7 separate regions of the Homo sapiens genome follow, and all the other regions are linked to region 1. The links are contacts of gene promoters, found by promoter capture Hi-C in blood cells and fetal thymus (Javierre and others, 2016). All regions are on one chromosome and are shown on one strand. The core of a region is centred on a gene start or on the middle of the fragment in contact, and the rest is flanking DNA. Distances in the headings are between cores, read along the strand shown.

Region 1 (3,932 bases), core at 706-3,205:
AGGCACTACCAATGTGGAACTCATATTGTAGATAAGAAAACAAGTAACTAATACTCTTTTAATACGAGCTAATCACAATGTAAAGGTGTAAAACATAGTCCCCACCCTTGAAGAAATTTAGTCTGCTGAGAATACTAATGGGTAAGCAAGTATTTGCAATACCATGTGACTTAGGCTGTTATCAAGTAAGCATTGTTGCTGAAGATTACAGAGGGATGCTGAAGAAAGCTACATCAAGAAGCATTGGAGTTGGCTTTGATTAGAGAACTCTCATAAAGTCTGTTCCAAAAGCCTCAAAAGTCAAAGGGCATTATTAGTAAAGCAGGAACAAAGCTAGATGTGATTACAGATTGTTAGAGCCAGCATTAGAAGTTGCTGAAACAATGAACAAGGAGGGACAATTTTACCATAGACCTCATATAGACACATGCAGAAACTAAGTCCAGTTTTTAAAAGAACATTAAAAAGCGCAACTTTTACCATCCATTATAATTAAATTTCTCCAACAATGTCTTCATCATAAGAATCACTAACATGTATTAAGCACCTGTGTGGCAAACATTGTGCTGATGGATTCACAGGCTTAGTCGTTCCTCCTCACCACATCCCTGAGGTAGGTGCTATTTTACCTTCATTTTACAGATGAGAAACATAAGAGGTTCAGAGATTTAAGTGATTTACTCACTTAGCTAGTGAGAGAGAGATATGGGACTTGCTCTAGTCTTACTGACGCCACAGTCTTTGTTCTTATCCCCTGTGACTGTTAGAAATCACTTAGCTCCATGTAACAAAAAACGTGAAAAACACTAAAGTTTATTGTCCTCACATAAGAAGTCCAGAGGAGTTGTTGCCTTGAGGCTGTCATCAGGGCCGCAGGCTCCTTCTCTTGCTGGTCCCTGTCGTTAATGTGTGCCTCTGGCCTCAGATGAACTCACTAAATGGCTGCTCTGTCCCACGGCATCCTATCTTCATTCCAGGCAAAAAGAAAGGGAGGAGCAAAAGCTAAAAGCCTTTCAGAAGGGCTTACTTTTCTATTTAAGAAGGAGGCCCTCCTCAGAAATTCCCACCTGCATTTCATTGGCAACATCTATGCTGCTTGGCCACCCCTAGCAGCAAACAAGGCTATGAAGTAGAGACTTTTGTTTTCCAGCTTTGACAAGTGAAAAAAGGGGAAAGTGAGTTGGATGGGTGCTGAGGAAACCAATTTATACAGTACATGTACAAGTAGCCTACACAATCACTCTGCTCACTGGCACTACAGATAAAGCACATGTTGCTATCCTAACCTAGAGGGCTCATGAGATCTAGTCCTTTCTTTTTGACCTTATATCTCTGTTCTCTTCAGCCAAACTGGGGTTTTTCGCTGTTAACATGTTCCCTTTTAAGCCTCCACCCTGTCATCCAAGTTTCACGTTCTCCCCAACCCCATTCCCAGTGTAGTAAAAGGCTCCTGGCATTCTGCCACTAAATGTGCATTAGTGTTAGAATATTCTGAGCATGAAAAAATAAAAATCACAACTGTATCTCAAACAAAAAGGATTTTTTTTTTTATTTCTCTCCCTTAAAACAATCCAGGCCAAGTGACAGGAAGGCTCCAGAATTTTCAGTGACCTGGGTTCCCTCTATTTTGTTGCTCTGCTATCTTCCACACGCAGTTTCCAGCTCAGCCAATCTCGTCTACCCTGGCACCGCATATAGTAGGCATAAACAAAACAGAGAAGTGGAGAGACTGAAGTGAAGGAAATGATTTCCGCATCCTAAGTAAGCTCTAAGGTGCTTTTCCACTTTTCACCTTCCACTTGGAATTCATAGTTCTACCTGAATTCCACTAGATGGCAGCACATACATTTATAAAGTGTATGGATGGAGCCACTAAACTCTGAAAGCAGGGAAACTACAAATCCCAGCATGCATTATTAAGCGCTTGACTTGCTTCCAGACAAAGGTTGTCTCAAGTTTGTTGCTCAAACCGAGTTCTGGAGAACGCCATCAGCTCGCTGCTTAAAGTAAGATTTCCTAATACTTTTGAAATGAAACTTTAGAACGGAAAGAGGGGAGGTTTAATTTTTAGATGTTGTTTTTTTCTGCACGTTGCCTGTTTCAAAATTAATCTGAGCAGTTAGATCAGTGTAAAGATGGGTTTTTAAAGAGCCTGAAACTCTGTGGTATGTATGTTTTATAAAGTAGCCCAAGAAAAAAGGATTCTTACGGTATCCTAAGTGAAGAGTTTTCTTCCTGGCTCTTGAAAACAATGGCTTCCTGAATATGCTGTTTGTGTCTCTGCTAATCAAAAATCAACATTTTGATTCTAACTTTTGGACTAAGGAAGCCAACATGTATGGTTTTCACATTGGATATATTGAGAGGTGCCTTGTTTTACCATTTCAGGCCGTGTTTGCTCTCATTTTCTCAAAGAAATCTGTTTTAGTTTGAGATTACAGTTTATCAAATGTTAAGGCTTTGACCCCAAAATCTGGTCCCAGAAAGACAGGAAGGCCAGCTAAGAGGAGGTTTTCAGAGTGCATAGAAAGGCTGCTCTGTGCTTCGGCATTTGTTCTGGAAGTGCTTCTTCGGTTGGCAAAGATTCCTAGCAAAACCTTTGACTGGAGGCTTTACAGGGCCATACACCCAATATCACTAATGACAGTGTTGTAAAATAGCTTTTGTGCACCATGCTTAGGATTCAAGGAGGATAAAGTATATCTTTCTAAAGTTATACTTTAGAAACTGTCATTCCATGTTGAAATGATAAACATTCCATGTTTATCTTTTGTGTAAGAAGTAAAAAAGCAAAAATTCATTGCATCAAAGTAGGTCAGGCACTGTTAAAGCCAAGCTTCCCCATCGCCTAAAAAATGTGGACAAACTCAGAGGAAGTCAGTGATTATAAGCTGATCCCTGGAGCCAGTTCTTACATAATTGTGTTAGTCTGCTCCTCCAAGAAGCAGACTCCAAGATAGAATTAAATATGCATGGATTTTATTAGGGGAAATGCTGTTGTGAGAGAGAATGAGGAGAGAACTAGGTAAGGCTGTGAGAGCCATCAGACCTCGATGCAAGTCCACCCGCGAGGGAGGAAAAGAAGGAAACCAGGTTGAGTGGAAGCATCCCAGACAGCTGTGCAGTCTAAGAGAACTTCAGCAAGGTAATAAGGAGCTTCTCTAGCCAGTCATCCGTTGGGGAGGAGGTCTATGTCTCCCAGAAATGAGTCTGCCTTAGTAAGCATGCATGCTCAGGCACTGGCTTGTAACGGCCCCGAGAAGGTGGCCTCAGCACAAACCCAGAGAGGCAGCAGCAGCTGCGCCTCATTGTCCATTACTTCCTGGGGTCAGCGGTCTGCGAGGCACAGGCTCCTGGTGCCACAGTGGGGATTTAGAGAGGCCCGCAGGGCTTTGAGTACCATGAGACAATGCCATGAGATCTTCCCTTGGACCTGCAACAAGAAGGCCTAGGTTTGAATTCATAGCTGCAAAACACTGGGCAAATAACATTTCTTTGAAATTAGCCACGTTGGTGATCAGGTCCTACCTATCTCATCTCTGAAACACTTCTCCAATCCACCTATCTCTCCATCCCTGCTATTTTCTCCAGCCCTGCTATTTCACCAGCGCCCCCACTAGATAACCCTAGCAGCCTCCTAATGGCACCCCATGCTCCTGCCCAGGTATGTTCTCCACAGCAGTCCTTCCAAAATACGAATCTGATCATTTCACACCCTTTCCATAAATCCTTCAGTGGCTGTTGCCTATAGGAGTAACTTGCCCTTCACCATGTGGACCTTGGACCAAGTGTGGAGGTTTGAAATGGAAGAGCATATTGGGTATAAAAAAAAAAAAGTTTGGCTAAAGAGAGAACTGAAATAAGTTCAAAGAGAAAGGACTAGGTAATATAAGCCCTTTAGGCAAGGCTATCAACCTGTACAAAATCAGGCA
Region 2 (3,932 bases), core at 807-3,306, 710 kb after region 1:
GTAAATTCAAAAAGTTCAATCATTATCTGATGTTTGAATTCCCCCATAGATATCTTTTCTAAGTATTTATGTAACTTGTGAGTCAATCTCTCTAGTGAGAAGAAACTATCATAAAGGTCACCCATTACACCTCAATTCAGAGTATTTATTGTTTTAATGACTTAAATTATTTTTCACATTAAAACTTCCTGCAGAGAGGGTTGAAGAAAGAAAAATGAGTATTATTATTATTAGTAGTAGTAGTACAGTTGGTTAAAAAGTTAAAATTAATTGCTCAGAAGTGATTTAAGGATAATAACTATTAGTTTAGAAAACGAAATAAGATGGAAAATAAAAAATAAGCACAATAGTATGTATTTTTAAAATTAATGGCCAATTTTTCAACTATTGGGTCACAGTGACCTTAGCATCATGTGTACAGTAGGAAAAATCAATCAAAACATTTTTATGGAGGACCTTTGCTCTAAGTGCAACAAGCTAGAAAAACTTAAGATATATTTTCTTTTAAGGAACTTAAAATCTCCTTGGAAAGGTAAGATAAGAATGTAGAAAGTAACAGAAAATATGAGTACACCAATAATGTGCACCAGTGAAAAGGTTAAAAATAATAAGATTTAAGGCTTTCTCAGAAGTATGGGGTGGTCAGTGAATGCATTCACTGGGGGATGAAGGACATGGGAAGGGGGCTGAGACTTGAAGGATTCAGGGACTGATAAGATGCCGTGAAGATGAGGCAAGGGAGCCATTTCAAGCTAAAGAGTGGGAGGAGGATGGTTTGAGCAGAGATCTGGTGCAGAAAAGAGAAGAATGCCTGGAGGCAAGTTGGGTAACTGCAGGAGATAAGGTTTGGCAAGGTAAAAATGGGCCAGATGGTTGAGGGCTAGGCACAGGAATTCAGATTTTTGTCTTGCACAGATTTCAGAGTTTGAATTAGGAAATAATTTGACTTAGAGACTGTAAACACCCAGAAAAATGTAAGAGACAGCAGTTATGTAGGCTTTGTGATTATTGTAGAACTTCAGAACGGAAATGAATAATCTGACCTATGTGGACAGTGATGGGGATGGAAAAGCAGGGATGCATGTTAGTGAAGTTGCACAAGAGGAATCAAAAGCATTTGGTAACATGATCTAGGGGTGAGGGGCAGGTAACTTTCAAACTTTTTGATGATGATCATAACAAGAAATGCATTTATATATTTTGCTTATAATTACATATACATATATATGTTGTACATTTATAAAAAACGGAAATGAAAATTCTAAAAAAAAGTTTACGCTTACTCTAATTGATGTACATTGATATTTGTTTCCTTCCATTCTATTAAAAAATAAACTGATATTAATCCATGAAAATGATTTTATGAACCATGAGTGAGTTGTTATTTGAACACAATGTTTGTAGGGGTATAATTTAAAGGATACCAGAAAATTGTCCTTCTCCAAGATTTCTTACTGATTTTGCATTTCCAGAATTGGAAATTGAAATTTTGGTCCTGTGTTAAAGCAAATCTCTTTGGAAAGGCATAAACTTTGCAACCTTTTACCTTACAGTGAGCAATTTATTATCTTTCCTGGAAATCATGTTACGTTAGAGCAGACAATAGGGAAAATATGGAAGCCTGAGATGTTTGTCTGAAAGGTTGCGAAAGGCAAGACGGTGTTGAGACAGAAATGTTGTCCTCTTTAAAATTTTATATAGAAGTTACTACAATAAGTACAAGACAAAATTAATATTCACTCATTCATTCTCACTTAATCACAAGATAAAATTAATATTCACTCATTCATTCTCACTTAATCTTAGCCAAAAAACTGAGAAGCAATAATATTCATTCTCTGAATGAGGAAGAAAGACTTGAAGGAAGGTGGAACAAGGATTGGCAAACAGGATAGTAAGCCATTGTTTCTCAGCCATGAGGAGAAGATGCTAACCAGTACATCTGGAAGGTGAAGAACAGGAGAAGGAGAGGTTTGGAATAACCAGGAATAGGAATAGAGGGAGAAGGTGGGAGTGTAACTGTCTCAGGAGAGCGTTATATGTCAATGTATCATGTCAATGAGCCATGATAAAAGTGACTCTAGTCCTCAGGTTTAGGCAAGTTGCTTAGTCTGGGTCCTCTATCTTTTGTTGTGAAGACTCGATTTCACTAGAGTAACTGTCCAAACAAACCAACACACAGAGAATTAGGAAAATGGGTTCCTAATTCATCTGTGGTATTGTCAGGAGAATAGGAGAGTCAGGCAGTTAGTGTTCTTCTAGTGGTTCCAAGGATTAGAGGAAAATCATATTGGAGAAAGGGCATAGGGCACATGCCTTAATTTATGTGTATGGAGAAGGATGCTCTCTGGATGGCTGTGATAATCCCAGGTATCTCACGTTTTCAGCTTCAATTTGGTGTGTGGTCTGCATCTCCATGATTTTGTCTGGGCTGAGGGGTCAGTCGTGAACACTTCAGGGTTATTTTGCACCAGGCCGCTTAGTCCTATCTAGAATATGGCAAATCACTCTTAGATCTAAGATATCAATTTAGCAGAAACAGCAGTCAGTGAGTGAAGTCAAATAATTTCAATGGTGCACAATGGATGTATTAAATTTTATCATAGCACTAACCTCTTCTATCAATTGTGTAAGATTACTTTTCTCTTGAAAGACCAGTACCCTTAGAAGAAAGATCAATCTTCTCTTATTAATGCCTCTCTTAAACAGAGGCATTAAACTTACATATTTGCAACTTCTGCTTAACATTTATAATTAAGAATTCCTCCTTAATTTGGAGTAAATTATATAGAACTAGAATAAAAGATGAGTTCCCTTTGCCAATTTATAGAGCAGGAGCTGGATAAAAGGATGCGGCCATGCTGTTTTCTTCTCAGAGCTACATCTGCTCCAGTGCCTGAGGAGATGCCCAAGGCACAGTTCAAAGTCTCTATTTCTAATCTCTAGTGAGAGTTTGATAGGAAGAATGTGGACTTATCCTTCCTTGTCCTGAAATTGAGAGGAAGAGAGGGATGTGTGTGACTCCCCTCCCCGTGTTCAGGGACTTTGCCATCAAAGCCTTGCATTATTCCAGGAGTCCCCACTTGCTTTAGTTCGATGGAAAGAGAATTTAGCTGGATGGAGGAATCAGGAATTCCCCCTGAATATTGTGTGCCAAGGAAATCTTTTTTGTTTCCAGTAATCATAAAATAACCCATAACACCCAGATGGGTCTGATTCCTGGACCTCAACACAAATGTCCCCTCATTCTCTACTCTCTTTCAGATATAAAGGTAAATGCTATCTAAGCCACAGTAACCTTGAGATACTGTGGGCCTGGGGCAGAGAAGAGCATCTGTAGAAGAGGCAGTGGACCACAGTACTGGATCTGGAAGTTCTGAGCCTTTACTTGTTGAGGAGCAGTGAGTACCTATTTGGGATTTCTGGTGAGTAACATCACCTGCCTCCTCTGACAGAACTCCATTATCATGTCATTGATTTCTCAGTGAACCATACTCTAAAGGTATTACTAGGAGAATCTGGTCTGTGAACATATGCTCATAGTTCTGTGTCATAGGAACAGGTATAAGAATTTCAAGGAAATAAGCATATCAAATGGTCACTGTGGAAGACTAATTCGCTGTCTACATTGAGTTAGCATTTGCACATTTCACATGACTCCACACCCATGATAAATGATGAAGAACAACAATAGGAAGCATGCAACCAGCCAACTGCTCTGAGGGCCCAGAAGGGCTGACTTTGGGAAACTGACTCTCCATCCTTTGGAAAACAAGGCTGAAGGGTCCTGACTTTTTCAGCACAGCCCTCTCCATGCAAACTGTCATGAGGCAAAACACTGGGTCATAGACCTGTGATTCCCAGCCAGTGTGATATAGGTGTCAGATGATATGTTCATAAGAACATGGTAAAATGAGAAAAATCACAAAATG
Region 3 (3,932 bases), core at 742-3,241, 690 kb after region 1:
TGTGTCCCCACCCAAATCTCACCTTGAATTTTGATAATCCCCACATGTCAAAGGCACGACCAGGGGGAGAAAATTGAATCACGGGGTCAGTTTCCCCCATGCCGTTCTTGTGATAGTGAGTGAGTTCTCATGAGATCTGATGGTTTTATAAGGAGCTTTCCCCTTCATTTGACACTCATTCTGTCTCCTACCACCCTGTGAAGAGGTGCCTTCTGCCATGATTGTAAGTTTCCTGAGGCCTCCCCAGCCATGTGGAACTGTGAGTCAATTAAACCTCTTTTCTTTATAAATTACCCAGTCTTGGGTATTTCTTCATAGCAGCAAGAGAATAGACTAATACAATGGGTGAAGTCTTTACTCCCCCAGTGGCCAGGTTTATTTTTTTATTTTATTTTTATTTTATTATTATTTTTTTACTGGATAAGATTTTTTCTTTTATTTTTTCTTTTTAAAATTTATTTATTGTATTTTAAGTTCTATGGTACATGTGCACAACGTGCAGGTTTGTTAACATATGTATACATGAACCATGTTGGTGTGCTGCACCCATTAACTCGTCATTTACATTAGTTATATCTCCTAATGCTATCCCTCCCCCTCCCCCCACCCCATGACAGGCCCCAGTGTGTGATGTTCCCCTTCCTGTGTCCAAGTGTTCTCATGGTTCAATTCCCACCTGTGAGTGAGAACGTGCGGTGTTTGTTTTTTTGTCCTTGTGATAGTTTGCTAAAAATGATGGTTTCCAGCTTCACCCATGTCCCTACAAAGGACGTGAACTCATCCTTTTTTATGGCTGCATAGTGTGTATGTGTCACATTTTCTTAATCCAGTCTATCATTGATGGACATTTGGGTCGGTTCCAAGTCTTTGCTATTGTGAATAGTGCCACAATAAACATATGCGTGCATGTGTCTTTATAGCAGCATGATTTATAATCCTTTGGGTATATATCCAGTAATGGGATGGCTGGGTCATATGGTATTTCTAGTTCTAGATCCTTGAGGAATCGCCACACTGTCTTCTCCAGTGGCCAGGTTTAATACTGGTGGAATATGAATAGAACATAGATATTTTTCTGAAGTCTTGTTCATCAGCACTTGCTTCTCTAACTTTGGAGCTATGTGGTCCTGAATATGTCTGGACACAGAACAGACTTCTTGTTCTTTCCTTCCTTCTCACCTTACTTTTCATCAGTGTTTTATGGAAAAAGTATAAGATTTGGAGTTAGACTGATCAACGTTTCAATCTTCATTCTGCAACTATCACCTTACTGGACCTTGGGCACCTTATTTTATCTCTATGAGTCTCAGTGCTTCATCTGTAAAAAGATAATTGCAGCATCTGCTCTGCAGGTGATTATAAGGACTAGCAATGTTGACTGCCTGGTGAGTTGTAGTTGTTTAATGAGTGGAAATATTATTGTTATAATTACTAATATTAATATCATCATCATTCTTCCAGTGTGAAGGGTAAGACAAGACAATCTGCATATTGACATGGAGGTAGATCTATCCCATGATACTTCAGATACAGTTGCTTTGCTGATTTGGGCAACTCTATCTGCATGGGTATAAAGTGAAGGAGCTATGCAAGCAAAAGAGGAGGGGGCAGGGAGGGAGAGAGAGACAGAGAGAGTGGAAGGGAGGAGAGGGAGAGGAGGAAGTATTAACTGTGAAGACAAGTGACATTTGTGTGATCTTTTGTTGTTTTTATTACTGCATCCATCTCCAAATTGGAGTCTATCTCTAAAACCTATGGATCTTTTATATTAATTTCCCAGAAAGTAAAATGAGGCTCCTATAATGTCTTTCAAGTGGTTTTCTTTCCTGTGAGGAGACAGATGCCAGAGCTTACACACAGGCTTTCTGGAGCTAGAGGAGGAAGCAGGAGGCATGTCTGGTGAAGCACATGGGCAAGGTATGTACACCAAAAAAGTGTGTGTGTGTGTGTGTGTGTGTGTGTATTGGGGTGAGGGTTGGTTATTGTGACCTGGCCCAGAGTATAGGACAAGCCCTGACCCTGAGTCTCTTTGGGTCAGCTCTTGTAATAGAGGGCAAAAGAGCCACTTTCTCTCAAGATAGGTAGACTCAGATATCGATTAACTGAGGGAAGCCCTTTGACAAAAGCTGTGGTTGAGGCAGGTTATTTTCTTACAAAATTATTCATTTTAGCTTCTTTTTATGTCCTAATCTACTTTTCTTATTTTGTCCTATTCTCTCATGCTTAGGTAAAACACTATTTTCATTTTTTTCTACTAATCATGGATAATTCACTTTTTCAAATTATTTAGTTGTAAAAGTGTCACAAACTTTTAATTTGGCTTGGCTAGGGGGCAAATGACCACTTTGTGGGGCTAGTGTATAGTCAGGACATTGCTAAATTTTGGTAGAGTGAATTTGCCTCTAATTCAAAATAGAATATTTTCTGGAGTGCTCTTGGGAGCCAACATCATTGCTGAGAAATAATCTTGCTAGCACTTTAGATTTTACAATGTAAATAATTATATTTATTTATTCCAGGTAAATATCTGACTTAAGCTACCTCAAGAGCATCTCATATTGTCATCGATTAGGAGAGTGTGTTTTTCTCTTTTTGCTGTTTCCTGTTGAAGGCCAAAGCTACACTTTTTACAGGAAGATGAGAATGGCCATAAAGTCTTCCATAATCTAATTCTGGTCTCAGTCCTCCTCACTCTTTCACTTCGGCTCCAGAAATAATGAACCACTTATAACCCCTTCTTCTCCCTGATGTTGTTTTATGTTTCCCTGTCTTTGGTTGTCTCTATCTGCAGTCTCCTCCAGAAACCTCTTCCTGCCTTTCCTATGCCCTGTGTATATATAGCAAAATTGGACTCATTCATTTTTAAAAGTCAGCTTTATTAAGGCATAATACAATGCAATATATATGATAAATTTTACCAATTTTTAAGAGTATGTACAATTCAATGGCTTTTGACAGACTTATATAGTCATATAAGCACTACAATTGTAATCTAGAACATTACTCTGCAAAAATGTTCCTATGTCACCTTGCAGTCTATCCCCTCCTCCTGCCCCCGGCCCCAACATCTGCTGATTTGTTTTCTGTCACTATAGTTGTGTCTTTAAAATAATTTCATATAAATTGAATTATTCATTATGTAGTCTTCTACATCCAGCATACTGCACTTAGCATAATGTTTCTGTATTTTGTTTTTGAGACAGAGTCTCAATCTGTTGCCCAGGCTGGAGTGCAGTGGCCTGATCTTGGCTCATGGCAACCTCTGCCTCCCAGGCTCAAGTGATCCTTTCACCTCAGCCTCCTGAATAGCTGGGACTACAGGCATGCACCACTAACTTGGCTAATTTTTTGTAGAGAAATGTTCTCACTATAGTGCCCTGTCTGGTGTCTAACTCCTGGACTTAAGCAATCCTCCCTCCTCAGCCTCCCAATGTGCTGGGATTACAGGCATGAGCCACTGTGTCCAGCGAGCATAATGTTTTTGAGATTCATCCATGATGTTGCCTGTATCAGTAGTTCATTCTTACTGTTGTCAGGTATGCTACTGTGTGGATGTACCACAATTTGCTCATCCATTCAATAGTTATTGGGCATATGGTGTTCACACTTCCAACTTTCTCTAGTTCCTTTCCTGATATCTACCTCTGCCACAAAAAGCTACATAGGCTTAATCTTTTCCTTTGTATCTGTAGAAATGATTCTCACTGTTAATAATTATTTGTCTATGAATGTGTTTCCATTAATAGACTGAAATCCTTGAGAGTAGAAACTGGGTTTATTCATCCACTTTCCCCAATGCCTACTGCATAGTTAGGGCTCAATAAAGTTGGCTGACTAGAACAAATATACCCTTTAAAGCTGACCTCCAGTTTAGCCTAAAACAAGATGAAAGATTAAAATTAGAGCCATTGCTTCCTTACTGTGAATGTGGC
Region 4 (3,932 bases), core at 774-3,273, 640 kb after region 1:
TATACGCGTATGTATATACATGTGTGTATATACATGTATACGCGTATGTATATACATGTGTGTATATACATGTATACGCGTATGTATATAATCAGTGATTATATACTACGTATATATGTATACATGTATATATATGTGTATACATGTATATATATATGTATATGTATCTCCTCACATCTTGAGGAAATACTGTAGTCAACATGGAATATACTTCAGTTACCTTTATTCTTCAGTCCACATCAATGAATGGAAGAGAAATTGTAAGGCATGTATGTAGCAAAGACTTGTTAGTGATCTGATCATAATTGACATGAGAGAGCTGAAACTGTCAACATAATAAACTAAAAGTCTTAAGCAACAGCTTTGACTTAAAACATGTGGGACTTTCAGGTAGAGAATCTCTAGCTCTGCATTCAGTGTGAAAATGTTTTTTATTTGCAATTTATTGTCAAATAACATAAGAAAGCTTTACTTGGATGAACCCTTTATTTGTATTTTCTGTGACTAAACATTCAGCCAAGCACCAGTTTTGATGTTCACAAGAAAACACAGTGATAAAATGTTGCTAAAATGGAAAATAAGAGAGGAAAGCCTTTATAAGCTAAATAAGAAAGGAAAATCTTACCGAGAGCAATGAATTCTCTTGAAATACCAAATACTTATTACTGGAGAAATTATGCAATGAAAAATCATGAGAAATCCTTTCTTCATAGAGCAACACTTGTGGCACATGTCAAATTTCACACTGGACAAAACACAGTCAGCATCTTGAAATGAGAAAACTCTTCAGTGGTAATTCATTTCTTAGTTGACATTAAGTTTCTCACATTGAGGAGCTATCAAACCTGAAAATCACTGTAGAGAAACCTGATAGATTTCTCATCAGAAAAGTGAGTCAAGAAGGTGGACCTCTAGAAAAAACTCTTAGCACATAGTTTAGCAAAATAATTCAGAAATTTGAGAAAATGTCTATTCATAAAAATGTGGCATGTAAATGTATAATAGCAAATTGACCTGGGAATAAATTGAATGCAGAATTATATAAGAAATTTCATTAAACTTTTCCAAAAGATCAATACTTACAAATATTGAAATAATGCAAAAATAATACTTACAAAATAATTATAAAATAATACTTACAAATATTGAAATATATATACGTTATATATAACACATATATATACACATTTTCTTTTTTCCAACAATATATGTATATATGTAACATATATGTATATATGTTACATATATACATATAGAGCTAGAGACTCTCTATATAGAGATTCCATGTATACATATAGAGCTAGAGATTCTCTACCTGAAAGTCCCACATGTTTTAAGTCAAAGCTGTTGCTTAAGACTTTTAGTTTATTATGTTGACAGTTTCAGCTCTCTCATGTCGTTTATGATCAGATCACTAACAAGTCTTTGCTACATACATGCCATACAATTTCTCTTCCATTCATTGATGTGGACTGAAGAATAAACGTAACCGAAGTATACTCCATGTTGATTACAGTATTTCCTCAAGATTTGAGTCCTTTGGCATGTTTAGATGTTACAACTATAGCTGAAGTCTCTTCCACATTCCTTACATTCGTCATTCCTAACACCATGTCATCTAAAGTCAGAATATGTTCTGAAGATGTTTATAATTTTCTCTCTAGGGTGAATTTTCTCATGCTATTTAAGATTAGTACATTGACTGAAGTCTTTCACACATAAATGGCATTCAAATGGCTTTTCTCCAGTGCATGTTCTCTCATGTCATCTAAGGTCAGAAGATAGACTGAAGGCTTTCCCACATAGAAGACATACATGTAGTTTCTCTCCAGTGTGATTTTTTTTATGCTCTCTAAAGCCAGAGCTCTGACTAAAGGCTTTCCCACCTTTATCACATTCATAACATCTCTTTCCAAGGTAAGTTCTCTAATGTCTTTGAAGGTTTAAGGATTGAATATAGGCTTTCCCACACTGATGACACTTATGTGGTCTCTCTCCCATGTGAGTTTTCTCATGTCTTCTAAGGTGAGAACACTGAATGAAGGCTTTTGCACATAGATGACATGCATATGGTCTCTCTCCAGTGTGAGTCAACTTGTGCTGCCTAAGGTGAAAGCGATTAGTATAAGCCTTTTCACATAGATTACGTTGATATGACTTACCTTTAGTATGAATTTATGTTGTTTAGGGGACAACTGATTACTAAAGGATTTTCCACACTGTTTGCTGATGTAGGGTTTCTTTCCACTGTGAGTTAACAAACATGGAGTCATTGTGGAACTGTGAGTGCAATCTTCTCCCAAATCATTATGTTCAAAGGGATCCTCTGGAATGAGAGATTTCTCCATTGTCAAACTGGTGGATGAGTCTTTTCTGATGATAGGATGCATGGATATCATGTGTTTTTTCTTAAGGGCAGTTTCCCTGTCTGGACTCTGGCCTTGAAGAAATTCTCTTCCTTCCCTCCATAGCTCTTTTCTTTGTTCCAGCTACAAAATTATATAGGATTTGCTTATCTGATGCCCGAGGGACACCAGGTGACTGATGTTTTCCAGCATCACATCTCTGTACAGCTTTCTCTTGGATATGTCCATCAAGAGAAAGCTCCACTCTTCTGGGCGAAGTCAATAGCTACATCTTCAAAGGTCACTTTCTTTAGTGAATGCATTGTCAAGAGCTCAGTTTCTCTCTGTCTTCTTCTGGATTTTCCCTTTTAGATGTTTCAGGCACTAAGAAAGAGCTGAGTCAAGTTAGACAGCTGAGCTGAGTGAAATACAGAGGTAGAGGAAGTAGCAGAAAGGCACGGGGAGCTCGCTGGATCCCCAAGTAGCCCATTCCTGCCTGGCACCACAGGCATCCATCAGGAGGATGGCCAGAGGAGCAGGGGGTAAAACTTCACGGGAAGGTCTTCTCTAGCTGAACTTTGTAACAATTTGAGCAGAACGAGAAGCCTCCTAGCCAGAATTCATATATTAAATTTTCTTTATCCACTCGTTGATTGATGGGCATTTGGGCTGGTTCCACATTTTTGCAATTGCAAATTGCACTGCTATAAACATGTGTGTGCAAGTATCTTTTTTGTATAATGACTTATTTTCCTCTGGGTAAATACCTAGTAGTGGGATTGCTGGATCAAGTGGTAGATCTACTTTTAGTTCTTTAGGGAATCTCCACACTGTTTTCCACAGTGGTTGTACCAGTTTATATTCCAATCAACAGTGTAAAAGTCTTCCCTTTTCACCACATCCATGCCAACATCTATTATTTTTTGATTATGGCCATTCTTGCAGGAGTGAGGTGGTATCACATTGTGGTTTTGACTTGAGTTTTTCTGATAATTAGTGATGCTGAGCATTTTCCATATGCTTGTTGGCCATTTGTATATCATCTTTTGAGAATTGTCTATTCACATCCTTAGCCCACTTTTTGATGGGATTGTTCATTTTTTCTTGCTGATTTGTTTGAGTTCTTTGTAGATTCTGGATATTAGTTCTTTGTCAGATGGATAGATGAGGATTTTCTTCCACTCTGTTGGTTATGTTAACCCTGCTGATTATTTCTTTTGCTGTGCAGAAGCTTTTTACTTTAATTAAGTCCCATCTATTTATCTTTGTTTTTGTTGCATTTGCTTTTGGGTTCTTGATCATGAAGTCTTTGCCTAAGCCAATGTGTAGAAGGGTTTTTCTGGTGTTATCTTCTAGAATCTTTATGGTTTCAGGTTTTAGATTTAAGACTTTGATCCATCTTGAGTTGATTTTTGTATAGGGTGACAGGTGAGGATCCAGATTTAGTCTTCTACATGGGGCTTGCCAATTATCCCAGGACCATCTGTTGAATAGGGTGTCCTTTCCCCGTTTTATGTTTTTGTTTGCTTTGCTGAAAATCAGTTGACTGTAAGTATTTGGCTCTATTTCTGGGTTCTCTATTCTGTT
Region 5 (3,932 bases), core at 570-3,069, 610 kb after region 1:
TCAGGCTCTAGTAAACCAGGGTGATTGGTCATGCTATATGAAGCCGACAAAACTGTTCTGAGTGAAATAAGGCTAGTTACTGGACATCATTGAGACAGCTGCCAATTACTTGTTTTTATGGAGGAGGTTTGCTTCTGTTTTCTGAAAGGTTGTATATCTGGCTGTCAAATCTATTCATAAGTGATGGTCTGACACTTATACATGCCTCTTTAATAAGATAAATATGGTTTTGCATATATATAACTCCTGATAAGCTTTTACAGAAATCTGAAAGAAATGTGAAATTATGTCATTTATTAATATATTGTTAATAAATACAAGTTATTAATATTAATATACTATATTTATTATATTAATAATGTTATATGATATTTACTTTATAACTATTGCAATATAAAATTAATATTTATATAATACCAATTATATAATTATTAATAATAATATAAAATAATAATTGTACACATCAATATATAATTATTGATTTATATATAAAGCTATATATAATTTATAAGTTATATAATTCTATATTATATAGAAGTCAATATATAATTTATTATATATTATAACTATTGTATATTATATATCATATACATTTATATATAATATATTGTTTATGTATAAATTATATGTTTAATAATATAATGATTATATTAACAATAACATTAATATATAATATTAATATTAATGTTTTTGTATATTAATATAATAAGCTTGGATTTTGGAAGCATGTTATATGGCTCCCTGGGTCTCAAGATTTGATGTTTCAACAGTTACATTCCTAGTCCATTATCTTTTGTAACATTTCCTCTCTTTCATTTTCCCTAGACTTGTTTTCTGGAATTTAAATTAGGTATATGTTAGATCTTCTCAATCTAATCTCTGTGTCTTTTAATATCTCTTATCTCTTTGGATTTCATTCTGGATAATTTCTTTATATTTGCCTTCTAGTTTATCAATTCTCTTTTCAGCTATATTTCATATGCTGTTTAATATGTCAACTGAATTATAAATAATAAATTGCTTACGTTTCTTGAAACAATCTCTGGAAATTATTTGAAGCTTAGGTTAAAATTGAGTAAGGAATATTTGTGCTTCTTTTTGCCTGTTATCTGGTATACTATTAACTTGGAAAAACCTTAAATAAAATTTTTTACTTGTGTGCTTTTGATCATCACATATAGTGTAAGTGGTTATGAATTCACAGGTGAGAATTTCTTCTTTTTCTGTCCAGTGACAAGGACTAGATAGGCAGTGTTATCGTTTGAACATGTCCCCCAAAGTTCCTGTGTTGGGACTTAACTCCCCATTCAACAGTGTTGAGAGGTGAGACCTTTGAGAGCTGATTGGGTCATGAGGTCTCTACCCCCATAAATGGATGAATGCCATTATTGTAGGAGTAGGTTACTTTCTCTCTTGAGTGTCTGCTCTTTTGCTCTTCTGCCTTTCACTATGGGATGATGTAGCAAGAAAGCTTTCACAAGATGCTGGCACCTTGATATTGGACTTCCCAGCCTCCAGAACTGTGAGATACAAATTTCTTTTCATTATAAATTACCCAGTCTGTGGTTTTCTGTGATAGCAACACAAAACAGACTAAGTCAATTTCTCAGCTATTCCCTCCAGTTTTTCAGTTTTGGAAATATTTAGATTCCTGAATTTCATGCCGGCTAAGCAGTATTAATTTTTAAAAATATGTTATGTAGCATTTCAGTTATTTCCATTAGTTATTTCATTTTAGTTATTTCAACCAGGAAGGGTATACTGTCAGAAACACATGGAGTCATTACCTATTTTTAAAATATGTATATTTTATCATTCTAGCATCTATCATATATTTAACTCCTAATCTTTAATTATATCTTCTTGAGTGAATTTATTACTTTTTAGAAAAGTTTTCACCTGGCTCTTCTAACAGTTCTATTTCAACAAAACACCTGTTTGAAGTGTTTATCTTAGTTTTCCTCTCTGGCTTGCTAGTACTACTAGGGCAAGTTATTATTTTCCATTTCCTGTTCAGACCTCAGGCTCTGTATACACTGACCTATAATTACAGGACAAGTAGTTAGGGTCTTTTATGCAGTGGCAAACCTGCCAGGGGAAAGGTTTCTGCTTTTGTGGGCTGGCAGTAAACCAACTGGCAATCTGTCCACACCCAGCTGAAGCTTTAAAAAAAGTCTTTCTTCTCCCAGAGCTCCCTGGGTGCAAGGGAGAATGCTTGCCTAACCTCAGGGGCTACAAGCAACTCTTCCATGAGTGCAGCGTTCCTCCATATGACCTGTCACTACCCAGATTAGTCTGACCTTCCCAAGAACACACACAAATAAGCCCATGTAATGCTTTCCTGAAGGCATTCATAGGTTTCCTCAGGCTAACTTTCACTGGAAGCCATAAAATTGAGACCTTTGTTTTAAGTCTTTCTATAACAAGGCCCTCCAGACTACCTAAAACAGAGAAGAGTGAGAGTATCTCTTTCCTTTTAGAGACCCTGGAGCCTGTGACCTCAAGTGACCCTGCTTTAGATGCCCCTGCTTACCTGCAGTAGCATTTTTTCTTGTTGGGGAAAGTAATTGAGAAGAGATTGGGAGGGTAAATTTGGGGACCTGTGTTCCATTACTATCTTCTTACAATGCTGTGAGTCACATGTCTACTTTTAGTGACAAGGAGGGTCTATCTCATCTGGAAGACATGAATTAGTAATGCTAGATTATGGTTAGCTAAGCGTAAATTGGGGCACTGTTATCAAAAAAAGGAAGAAGGGAAGACAAAGAGTATAAACAACAGATATCACCTCTATGTAGCACCTGTAAGGCTTATGCATAGTAGGTATACATAGATATACTTATCTGTTTTACTGATAGACATATCAGTAGATATACAGATCAGTTTTTTACTGCATTTTCTTTGAAATAAGTAATATAATTAAATGCCAGGAAGAGAGTTTTTTTCCAATGGCGTATTATAAATTATCAATATAATGCTGAGCATATACTTATCTTGGTTAGGATGCTTTTCACCTAAGGTGAAAAGATGTAAAATTATGACTCAAAATGACTTAACCATTATGGAATTTCATCAGGTCACATCGTTGAAAATCTTTAGGTTTAATGTAATCACAATTCTGGCTCTCTTCCCTTCAGAGACATTTTCTTTTCTTCTGTCCCTGTGTTAACAGTTTCCTCATGCTGGCTTTTCTCTTGGTCAAAAGATGGCTTCCAGATATACTAGGGACATACTTTCTTGTTGTAAGAGATGGGGTTGGGGGATTGGAGAGAGAGAGAGAGAGAGAGTTGTTTTTGATATATATATATACCCATGAGACCATCACCATAATAAAGACAGTGACCATGTGCATCAGCTGAAAAGTTTTCTCATGGCCCTCTGCAGTTCCTCATTTCCATTCCTCACTCCTCCACATTCCTAAGCAACCACTGATTTGCTTTCTGTCATAGATTAGTTTGCATTTTCTAGAGTTTCATATAAATGGAATCATACAGTAGGTACTATTTTTTATCTGACTTCTTTCATTGAGCATGATTATCTTAAAATTCATCCACCTTGTTGTATCAGTAGTTAATTCCTTTTTATTGTTGAGTAGCATTCCATTGTATAGATAGTCACAATTTATTTATCCATTTTCCTGTTCATAGACATTTAGGTTGTTTCCAGTTTTGGGATATATTAATAAAACCACTAAAACATTTGTGTGTAACTATTTAACTGTTTATATAGACATATACTTTCTTTTGTCATGGGAAATACCTACAAGTGAAATGGCTAGAGCGTATAGTTAGCATACATGTAACTTTTTAAGAAACTGCAGACTGTTCTCCCAAAGAGTATATTATTTTATATTCCCACTACAGGAAATGAGAGTTCTAGCTCCTTCATATATTTGCAATCCTTGGTATGGTCAGTCTTTTTTATTTTAATCG
Region 6 (3,932 bases), core at 939-3,438, 580 kb after region 1:
ATCTGACCCCACAGTCTCTGGTTCTTTCAGTTGTTTAGGAGGCAGAAGTGGTTTTCCTCTTTGGCATATAACATTACTTATTTTAATATAGTATCTTTGCTTCAGGTCTCCCAAGTGTTCTGGTTAGAGCTAGTCTACCCATAGCACAGCCTGAAAAGCAGAATAGGATTCTGACAATACACAAAATGAGTTATTCACAAGGCAATCACCTATGAAGATAAAAATACCAAACAATGTTAACTCAAGTGATAGTTCTTTTTTTAAAAAAAAATTTTCTTTGGTCTATCTCAAAAGATAGAAGGAGAATAAAGAGATTCTCCCTGAACCATGTCTATACTCACTGATGGTATGATAAAAGTATATATACTTATAATATTATATATAATTATATACATATACTTACATATTAAAACTATATATTTTATATATATACTTTATATATAACATATAAATATTTTATATAATATATAATATACTTATATATGAAAACTATATGTGTATATACTTATATATTAAACTATGTCAAATGTATATAATATATATAATTTAAAACTACAGTATATTGAAATACTACCTGAATGTTTTCCTTCCTTCATTAATTTAGTCATTCACCTAAAAATATTTATGCCTACTATGCCAACAACACCAAAGTGCAAAAGAGTGATGCAGTTCCTGTACTCACAGAGCTTACGGTTGTGGCAGATTGAAATCAATGGCCACACTTTTTTTTATATGCCACTCAACAAGAGGAAACATCTATTTCTCTGTGCTTTGAGTCTTGGCAGACCTACGGACATACTCTGACCAATAGGAAGAGGTAGAAGTACAAGTTCTAAACCCAGCTTATAAGAGGCCTTGCAATGATCATTCTTGCTTTCTTGGAACATTGTTACCATGCAAACAAGCCTGCACCAGCCACTGGAAAATCAAAGACCATGTGGAGCACAGACAGGCAGTCCTAGCTGAGGCTCCCTAGCACCAGCTGAGTAGCCAAAACAACTTCAGACAAACAGCAGTAGGGCACCAGCTGAGTAGCTACAAACAGTACCAGTCAAGTAGCCAAAAGACCTCAGAGATTAGCCAAAGCAGGCCAGGCCAGATGAACTAGGCAGCCCACAGAATTGGAAGAAGTAATCAGTATCTTTTAATTTGCTTTGTGGTGATTCTCCTTTTTTTTAATGCAACAAAAGCAAACTAATTCAACAGTTTAGGAAGTAGGAAGGCAAATAGGCAAAAACAATGCAATATAATATGTGTCATGGGAAATGGAGTATATGTGGGGTATGGGTTAATTATCTTGGTAATTCAGTGATCACACTTTGTTAGAGTTCTAGTCAAAGCCCACTTTGTACTCATTTTTTTACTCTATTAGTTTACTCAATTCCCAACTGAACAAAAGAGGCAAGTATAGTAGCCAAAACACTGTGGTGTATACATAAAATTAAAACTGTTAAAACTTTCAGAGTGCAAATATTAATAAATCACTGTTAGCTTTAAGCAGTGATACCTTTAAAACAAGTTAATGTTTTAAATCCCTTCACCTCTCTATCTAAAAGCAATTTCATCATTCCTGCTGCAATGAGCCCCATTTTTGACTTTGCAATTTCTGCCAATATATCATTTTCACACATATCTAGTCAATAACCAATTTCTGCTGATTATTTTCTTCATGTTGTTTCTTGGATCTGCCCCTTCTTTCCAACATCCTAGGAGAGACCTTTATTGCTTCACCTCTGAATGACAGTAATAGGCTCTGTACTGTTCTCCCTCACTGCAGGGTTTCTTCCTCTTCAAGAATCTTTCACATTATTGCCATATTACTTATAAGATAAAGTCCAAAGACTTCAACCACTCAGCACATTACATTATTATATTAAATCATATTATAAGCATCAACTACTACTATGTCCTAATCAAAACCCTCTATGATAGACAGATTAATCATTCAGAATGACTTGCTCATTTCCATCTTGTACATTTGTTCACAATATGCCCTGCATCCTGAAATGCCATCTTTTCTACCTCAATAGCATCCACTCTTCAAGGCTCTAGTTAAATCCAATTTCTGCCAAGAAATCCTATATTTTTCCTATAACCTATAGCTCTGTAGTCACATAATATCTATAAAACTTATATATACTGGTGATTTAACACTAGACAGCATAGTTTTACTGCAATCTAACTTTACCTATATATTTATCATCTTCTCAAATGGATAGAAGTTCCTAAAAAGTAGAGATGGGAGTTTTGCTTTTTTGTATTGGCAAATTGGAAAACACTGGTTTTTTTGTTTTTGTTTTTTAAGTAATACTGTATTAATTTTAAGAAGCACTGCAATTTCAAGTTTGTCAGAATGTCAAATTCTGGTTTTAGTTATCACAGATTAACAGTTATCTGAACCTCCCTCCTTGCTATACTCAACTGTGAAACCATACAAAATACCTAAAGATGTAATTTAAGACATTGGACTTCATAGGGCTATATATTATAAGGTGATTTAGGTAAATTCTAAATTCGCCCTCACTTTTTGACTGAGGACACTTTCCAAATCATGACACAGGGAGAGCCCAAAGAGAGAACACCAATGGGCAGAATATCACAAAGAAAGGCTTTACACAAAAAGCAAGAGCCTCAGAAATCTACATAGGGGTCATCTCTGGTCACTGGCCAAATACCAAGCTGTGATAGTGTAGGACAAGACCCTGCAAAACCTAATAGAAAACAGTTTCTGGGCATCTAAGAGCTAAATGGAAATTCCGGACATCATATAGTGCTGAGAGACACTGAATTTGTAATAATCCAGGGTGGAAAGACATCACTGAACATTGTGAGCATTCAGTTGTGATTTCAGAAAGACCACACGATGGGAGTTAGAAACATCCTAAAATAAGGGCTACTCTAAACCTATCTTAATAAAACTAGGTGATCCACCAGTAAATTCACTGCCTGTTACAACAAAGCTCAACACGTTTTAAAGGAAGACAAAAAACCCAAACTCTCCACAATGTACAATAAAACATAATGAAGCCTGCAAAGAAATAGGAAAATAAGACTGAGAAAAAAAATGACACAAATGACAAAAATAGCTAATAGCATATGGTCAATAATGTAAAGGAAAAGATGAACATAATGAGAGAACAGATAGGCAATATCAGCAAAGAAATGCATACCTTTCTTTTAAAAAAAAGAATGGAAATTTTAGAACTGAAATGAAATTTCACTAGATGGACTTAGCATATTTAACATTATAGAAGAAAGTACCAATAAACTAGAAGAAAGGTCAATAAAAACTACCCAAACTGAATTACAGAGAAAAAAAGGTAGAAAGAAGTGAACACAGCTTCAGTGACCTACAGGACAATATTAAGCAGTCTTACGTATTTGTAACATAGAATCCCAGAAACAGAAAAAAGACAGAAAAAATATTCAAAAAAATAACAGTTGAGAATTTTTATAAATTTGATTTTTAAAAAATCAACCCACAGATCCAAGAATCTCAAAGATCTCTCTGCTGGATAAAGACAAATAAAACCATGGTTAGGCATATTACAGCCAAACTGTTAAAAACTAATGCTAGAGAAAAAAAAAATCCCAAAATAGCAAAGGACAAGAAAGGACATATTATATATGGGGGAACAATTGATAAGCATGATAAGCATGATGTTTCTGATGATCATTAGATACAGTACAAGCTAGAAGGCAATGTAAAGGCACCTTTACAGTGATAAAAGAAAAAAAAAGATTGGTCCAGAATATTCAGCAAATAAATCTTTTAAAAATAAAGGTGAAATTGACATTTTCAAGTAAACAAGAGCTAAGAGTATTCATCACCAGCAGACCTGCTAAAAGACATGCTAAAAAGAAGTTCTTCATGCTGAAGGGAAATGATAGACACTTGGACCTGTATGAAAGAATAAAAAGCATCAATAATG
Region 7 (3,932 bases), core at 390-2,889, 570 kb after region 1:
ACTTGAATACAACCTTCTTACTTTCACTGAATTCAGATATCAAAATAGCATCACTTTGGTAAACACATTGTTTTACTCACATAAGCTTTTATATGAATTAAATTTTGAATTTTGGAACTACATTAACCCTTCAGGTAAATCATAAATGCCAATTTTTCCTTATAACTGTTGGATCCATAATAAGGAATTACATTTAAAAATTCTTATTGTAGTGCTATGCTTATGAAAATGATATTGGAAAAAATACTTTGGCATATGCAGACAAATTTCAGTTGATTTCTGTTTCATAGACTACCTAGATCTTAAAAGCTGGGAAATTTTCCAGGATGCCAGAGCCCACAGAACTTTAAGGGATAAAATTTCACTGGGAATTGATGACCTTCTCTGAGAAATAACTGCTTAAAAGAGTTGAACATGGAGGTAGAGCAATGGAGTGTTACTGGCAACCTGAGGAGTCAGGATGTGACACCTGCAAGAACTAGAACCATGCCCCAAAGTTTCATGTGGCATTCTTGCCCCCACAGCAAAAACTTTCATCTAATTTCAACCTTATAAGGATAGCCTGTTCAGCAATCATTAAGACATTTATATCAAATGCTGACCAAATATAACACATATATAATGTCACGATTCTGGAAACCACAACGCAGTGGATGCTTTATTTAAGCTTGTGACCTAGTTAGCATGTGTTAAATGTTACAAAATGCAAAAGTGTTTCACTCACCTGAGCTAATGAAAAGAATACTTAGAAAATGTATTGGGTAATACAGCTGCAAGAGGACAGGTATCCATATCCTCAGTCACACACAAATGTGATTAGTTTATCCATCCAAAGATTTACTGACTGTCCTCATTCTGTGGGGAACTACACCATTATTTCCATTCCCTAATAACTGAAACCTCCTATAGGCAGACATTAAAGATTGCCTTTCTTTCTCTTTCACAGCATTGGTCCCATCCAATTTCCTATAAATATCCACAGAGTTGGATACAGTGAGGAGGCCATTTCAGTTCTGAGCTATTCTCTACAGACTCTAGTGGTAAGGGGAAGCACCTGAAAAAATGTTCCTCTCCTGACTCCAAAGAGGCTGACACCAGAGGGAAGAGAATTCAATAGTTCATTCTAACATTTTACTTCCCACTGGTACTTTCAGTATGTTAGGTTACATGTTCCAAAGGCAGCACAGAAAAGGCTGGGGCTACCAAAGGAAGGAGGAAGGCTAAGAGGTACTACATGTGCAAGGATAATAGATGGATATCGCTCAGTGCATGTGAACTGTATGCATACGTATTTCCTTATAAATGAAAATGAATGGAAATCACCTCTGCCTTTCCTGGGAGTGGCTGGTAAGTTAAGCTGGTAGAGACAGCAGAATACTGTAATTAACTGTAATTCTAATACTGTAATTAACTGCAGTTTTACAGAACTACATACTGAGGCTCAGGACAGTGTGAACAATGAGTAAGAGAAATGTAAAGTGAATGAATAAAGCTGTTACATAATTTGTCAGGTTGTTGATCTTTCAGATAAACTACTTCCTTCATAGAACTCATTTACTATTCTTCAGTGCTTATGATCTCAATATTAGACACTGGAATCTAACATTTAAAGTCCCACCCCTTTAATCTTACCTGTTTAGGTTGCTCTAATATTTGAAGGTATGGGCCATCTGCTAAAAACAAAAACAACAAACAGAAACCAAAAGAAACTGTGAGGCTTCTCAAATTTGGTATAAAACGTAAAGCAAGTAAAAAACTGAAATTATGTTTTTATGTAGAAATTTCAAATCAATTTTTGGTTAAAATTCCACAAGGATATAATTTCTCTTCCTTGTCTGAAATATTAAATTAACCCTTATTTTAACAATAGTTTTACGAGTTTAGCGAACCACAATAAGTAAATGTTTGTTGAAAGGTGATGGCACATTTCCTAACCCAATAAAAGGCATATGGCCGGCAAGAATTGATGTCAACAGCCTTCATAATCTTGTCTCCTAACAAAGCATTTTAAAATGACAAATACCAATTAAAAGCAGCAACCACTTCTGGGCACTATGACATTTTCTTTGGCCTTCACATCATTAGACACTGACTTTCCTTCCTCAAAGAGAGTGTGCTTAATGTGAAATTAAAAGATACTGATCTAGCAACCTGTATGTATACGTCTGATAGACAGATAATGATCTCAGGCTATCTCTTTTTCCTTACACTAGGTTTTCTGTTCCCGTCTTTACTTGAAGGGAAAGTACTGCCTTCATTCCTTAACTGGTTAGTTTGTTTCCCCTTTCCTCCCCGACACTCCCAATGTAATCTGGTCTATCAGACATGGTAAAATTTTCATATTAATCCATAACTTTTGATGTTTATAAGCAATTTTGAATATTGTGCTATCATATAAACTGTGTTCTAAAACATCTCAGGCATTTTATAAAATACTGAAAATAATTTAATTGAAGATAGGTACATGCAAATTAGTTATTGTAAAAACGCAAAGAAAACTAGAGGCTTAATCCATACCCTAATGGTATCTGACTTGAAAATTCAAAGGAAAATCAGAATCTCTGACAACATAAGTACAAACTGTTCAATATGAAAAAGTCCTTAAGCTTCCCAGCTGATTTTTATGTCAATAGTACAATAATCCATAGCTTTGCAATAAATAAAGGCATATGGTGGTTCTCATTTATTTGAATGTAAATTAAGATGTTTGGTGCTAAAAATATTTTAGGAGAATGCTTGTATGTCCATTTTAATCTTCATTTTCTCTCAGAAAGAAGCTCAAGACCTCTTATTTTAAATAAATTTGTAAGGAGATAAACCTTCAGGTTGAAATTAAAAATAAACTATAACACAAAAGAGAATTTTCTCAAAATTTTTTTTATTTTTTTTTGAGACAGAGTCTCACTCTGTCACCCAGGCTGGAGTGCCATGGCACAATCTCGGCTCACCACAATCTCTGCTTCCTGGGTTCAAGCAATTCTCTGCCTCAGCCTCCAGAGGAGCTGGAATTACAGGCGCCTACCACCATGCCCAGCTAATTTTTGTATTTTTTTAGTAGAGACGGGGTTTCACCATCTTGGCCAGGCTGGTCTTGAACTCCTGAGCTCGTGATCTACCTGCCTTGGCCTCCCAAAGTGCTGGGATTACAGGCGTGAGCCACCTCACCCGGCCAGAGAATTTATTTTTATCTTTTCAATATTATGATAAATCAGGATAAGGCTAGAGAACTGGAGAAAACAAGGGTATAATTACTTCCTGTTATTATTCAAGAAATTTACAAGGAAGCGAGTTGAAAAATGAATGCATCTGAAATGAAGCATACACAAGAAAAAAAAGGGGGAGTCACTGGTCAATGTATTAAATTACCATCTTTTGTCTGTATGAAATTCACCCCTGGACATTTTAAATTACTTTTAGAAACATAATCATAATTTAAAAATTCCCCCACCAAATGGCTAGAATTTAATTTTGGATATGGAAATAAAATTGATTAGAAATAGAAATATTTTCACACTAAGATACAGCCTGTATGACAATGTAACACTTATAAAAACATTCCCTGTTAAAATGGTGAAAGAACATATCAAGACAGTCCTCTAACAGAGCAATATTTGGATGTCATGAAAAATACAGAGGAGTTGGAAGCATGTTTACATTAAACTTCAAGTCTCTCACTTTTTATTAACTCTGCTAAAAACAACTGCAAATTTGCTATTATTTTTCCTGTAGGATTTAATTTCCTTTAAATATGTGAAAATTCATGTAAAATAGAGCCATTTTTCCTCTTTCAGGCAACACATTAAAGTTAAATCAACTAGAAAATTAGATTTGATATGCATGTATTTGTTGTTTTAAGGCCAACATTCTTTTGGCCACATTTCTGTGCCATGAAAAGGACATTCCACTGTGCAGAGAAATTTAACTTTAGACCT

Evidence for each region. Contacts are between HindIII fragments. The CHiCAGO score rates a contact against its expected background, and 5 or more counts as called.
Region 2: a fragment that was not itself captured here is called in contact with the fragment with the promoter of BDH2 in region 1 in 2 of 17 cell types (monocytes and total CD4 T cells); the score reaches 7.6 in monocytes.
Region 3: a contact is called between a fragment that was not itself captured here and the fragment with the promoter of BDH2 in region 1, in 8 of 17 cell types (non-activated CD4 T cells, total CD4 T cells, fetal thymus and 5 more). The highest score is 8.4, in non-activated CD4 T cells.
Region 4: a contact is called between a fragment that was not itself captured here and the fragment with the promoter of BDH2 in region 1, in 5 of 17 cell types (naive B cells, total B cells, naive CD4 T cells and 2 more). The highest score is 8.2, in naive B cells.
Region 5: a contact is called between a fragment that was not itself captured here and the fragment with the promoter of BDH2 in region 1, in 2 of 17 cell types (naive CD8 T cells and non-activated CD4 T cells). The highest score is 7.7, in naive CD8 T cells.
Region 6: a contact is called between a fragment that was not itself captured here and the fragment with the promoter of BDH2 in region 1, in 4 of 17 cell types (total CD4 T cells, naive CD4 T cells, non-activated CD4 T cells and 1 more). The highest score is 5.9, in total CD4 T cells.
Region 7: a contact is called between a fragment that was not itself captured here and the fragment with the promoter of BDH2 in region 1, in 6 of 17 cell types (total CD8 T cells, naive CD4 T cells, total B cells and 3 more). The highest score is 6.7, in total CD8 T cells.

Annotation. Positions count from the first base shown.
Region 1 is chr4:103,097,857-103,101,788 of GRCh38, reverse strand. It overlaps BDH2 (3-hydroxybutyrate dehydrogenase 2), which reads left to right and starts at 1,955. Exons shown (of 10, transcript NM_020139.4): 1 at 1,955-2,006. The HindIII fragment of the contact is 3,413 bases long and covers 1-2,838 here.
Region 2 is chr4:102,384,843-102,388,774 of GRCh38, reverse strand. No RefSeq gene overlaps it. Among named protein-coding and RNA genes, the nearest start is that of SLC39A8, 41 kb to the right of the region's middle. The HindIII fragment of the contact is 4,429 bases long and covers 1-3,932 here.
Region 3 is chr4:102,411,802-102,415,733 of GRCh38, reverse strand. No RefSeq gene overlaps it. Among named protein-coding and RNA genes, the nearest start is that of SLC39A8, 68 kb to the right of the region's middle. The HindIII fragment of the contact is 4,802 bases long and covers 1-3,932 here.
Region 4 is chr4:102,459,986-102,463,917 of GRCh38, reverse strand. All of the region lies in intron 1 of NFKB1-AS1 (NFKB1 antisense RNA 1), which reads left to right. It also overlaps the pseudogene LOC100419863. Among named protein-coding and RNA genes, the nearest start is that of NFKB1, 39 kb to the left of the region's middle. RefSeq lists an enhancer at 1-395. The HindIII fragment of the contact is 3,110 bases long and covers 469-3,578 here.
Region 5 is chr4:102,492,194-102,496,125 of GRCh38, reverse strand. All of the region lies in intron 1 of NFKB1-AS1 (NFKB1 antisense RNA 1), which reads left to right. Among named protein-coding and RNA genes, the nearest start is that of NFKB1, 7.2 kb to the left of the region's middle. The HindIII fragment of the contact is 691 bases long and covers 1,474-2,164 here.
Region 6 is chr4:102,515,834-102,519,765 of GRCh38, reverse strand. The region is part of intron 1 of NFKB1 (nuclear factor kappa B subunit 1); the gene reads right to left. Among named protein-coding and RNA genes, the nearest start is that of NFKB1-AS1, 15 kb to the right of the region's middle. The HindIII fragment of the contact is 5,636 bases long and covers 1-3,932 here.
Region 7 is chr4:102,531,586-102,535,517 of GRCh38, reverse strand. NFKB1 (nuclear factor kappa B subunit 1) reads right to left here. Exons shown (of 24, transcript NM_003998.4): 4 at 1,633-1,673. Among named protein-coding and RNA genes, the nearest start is that of NFKB1-AS1, 31 kb to the right of the region's middle. The HindIII fragment of the contact is 1,939 bases long and covers 670-2,608 here.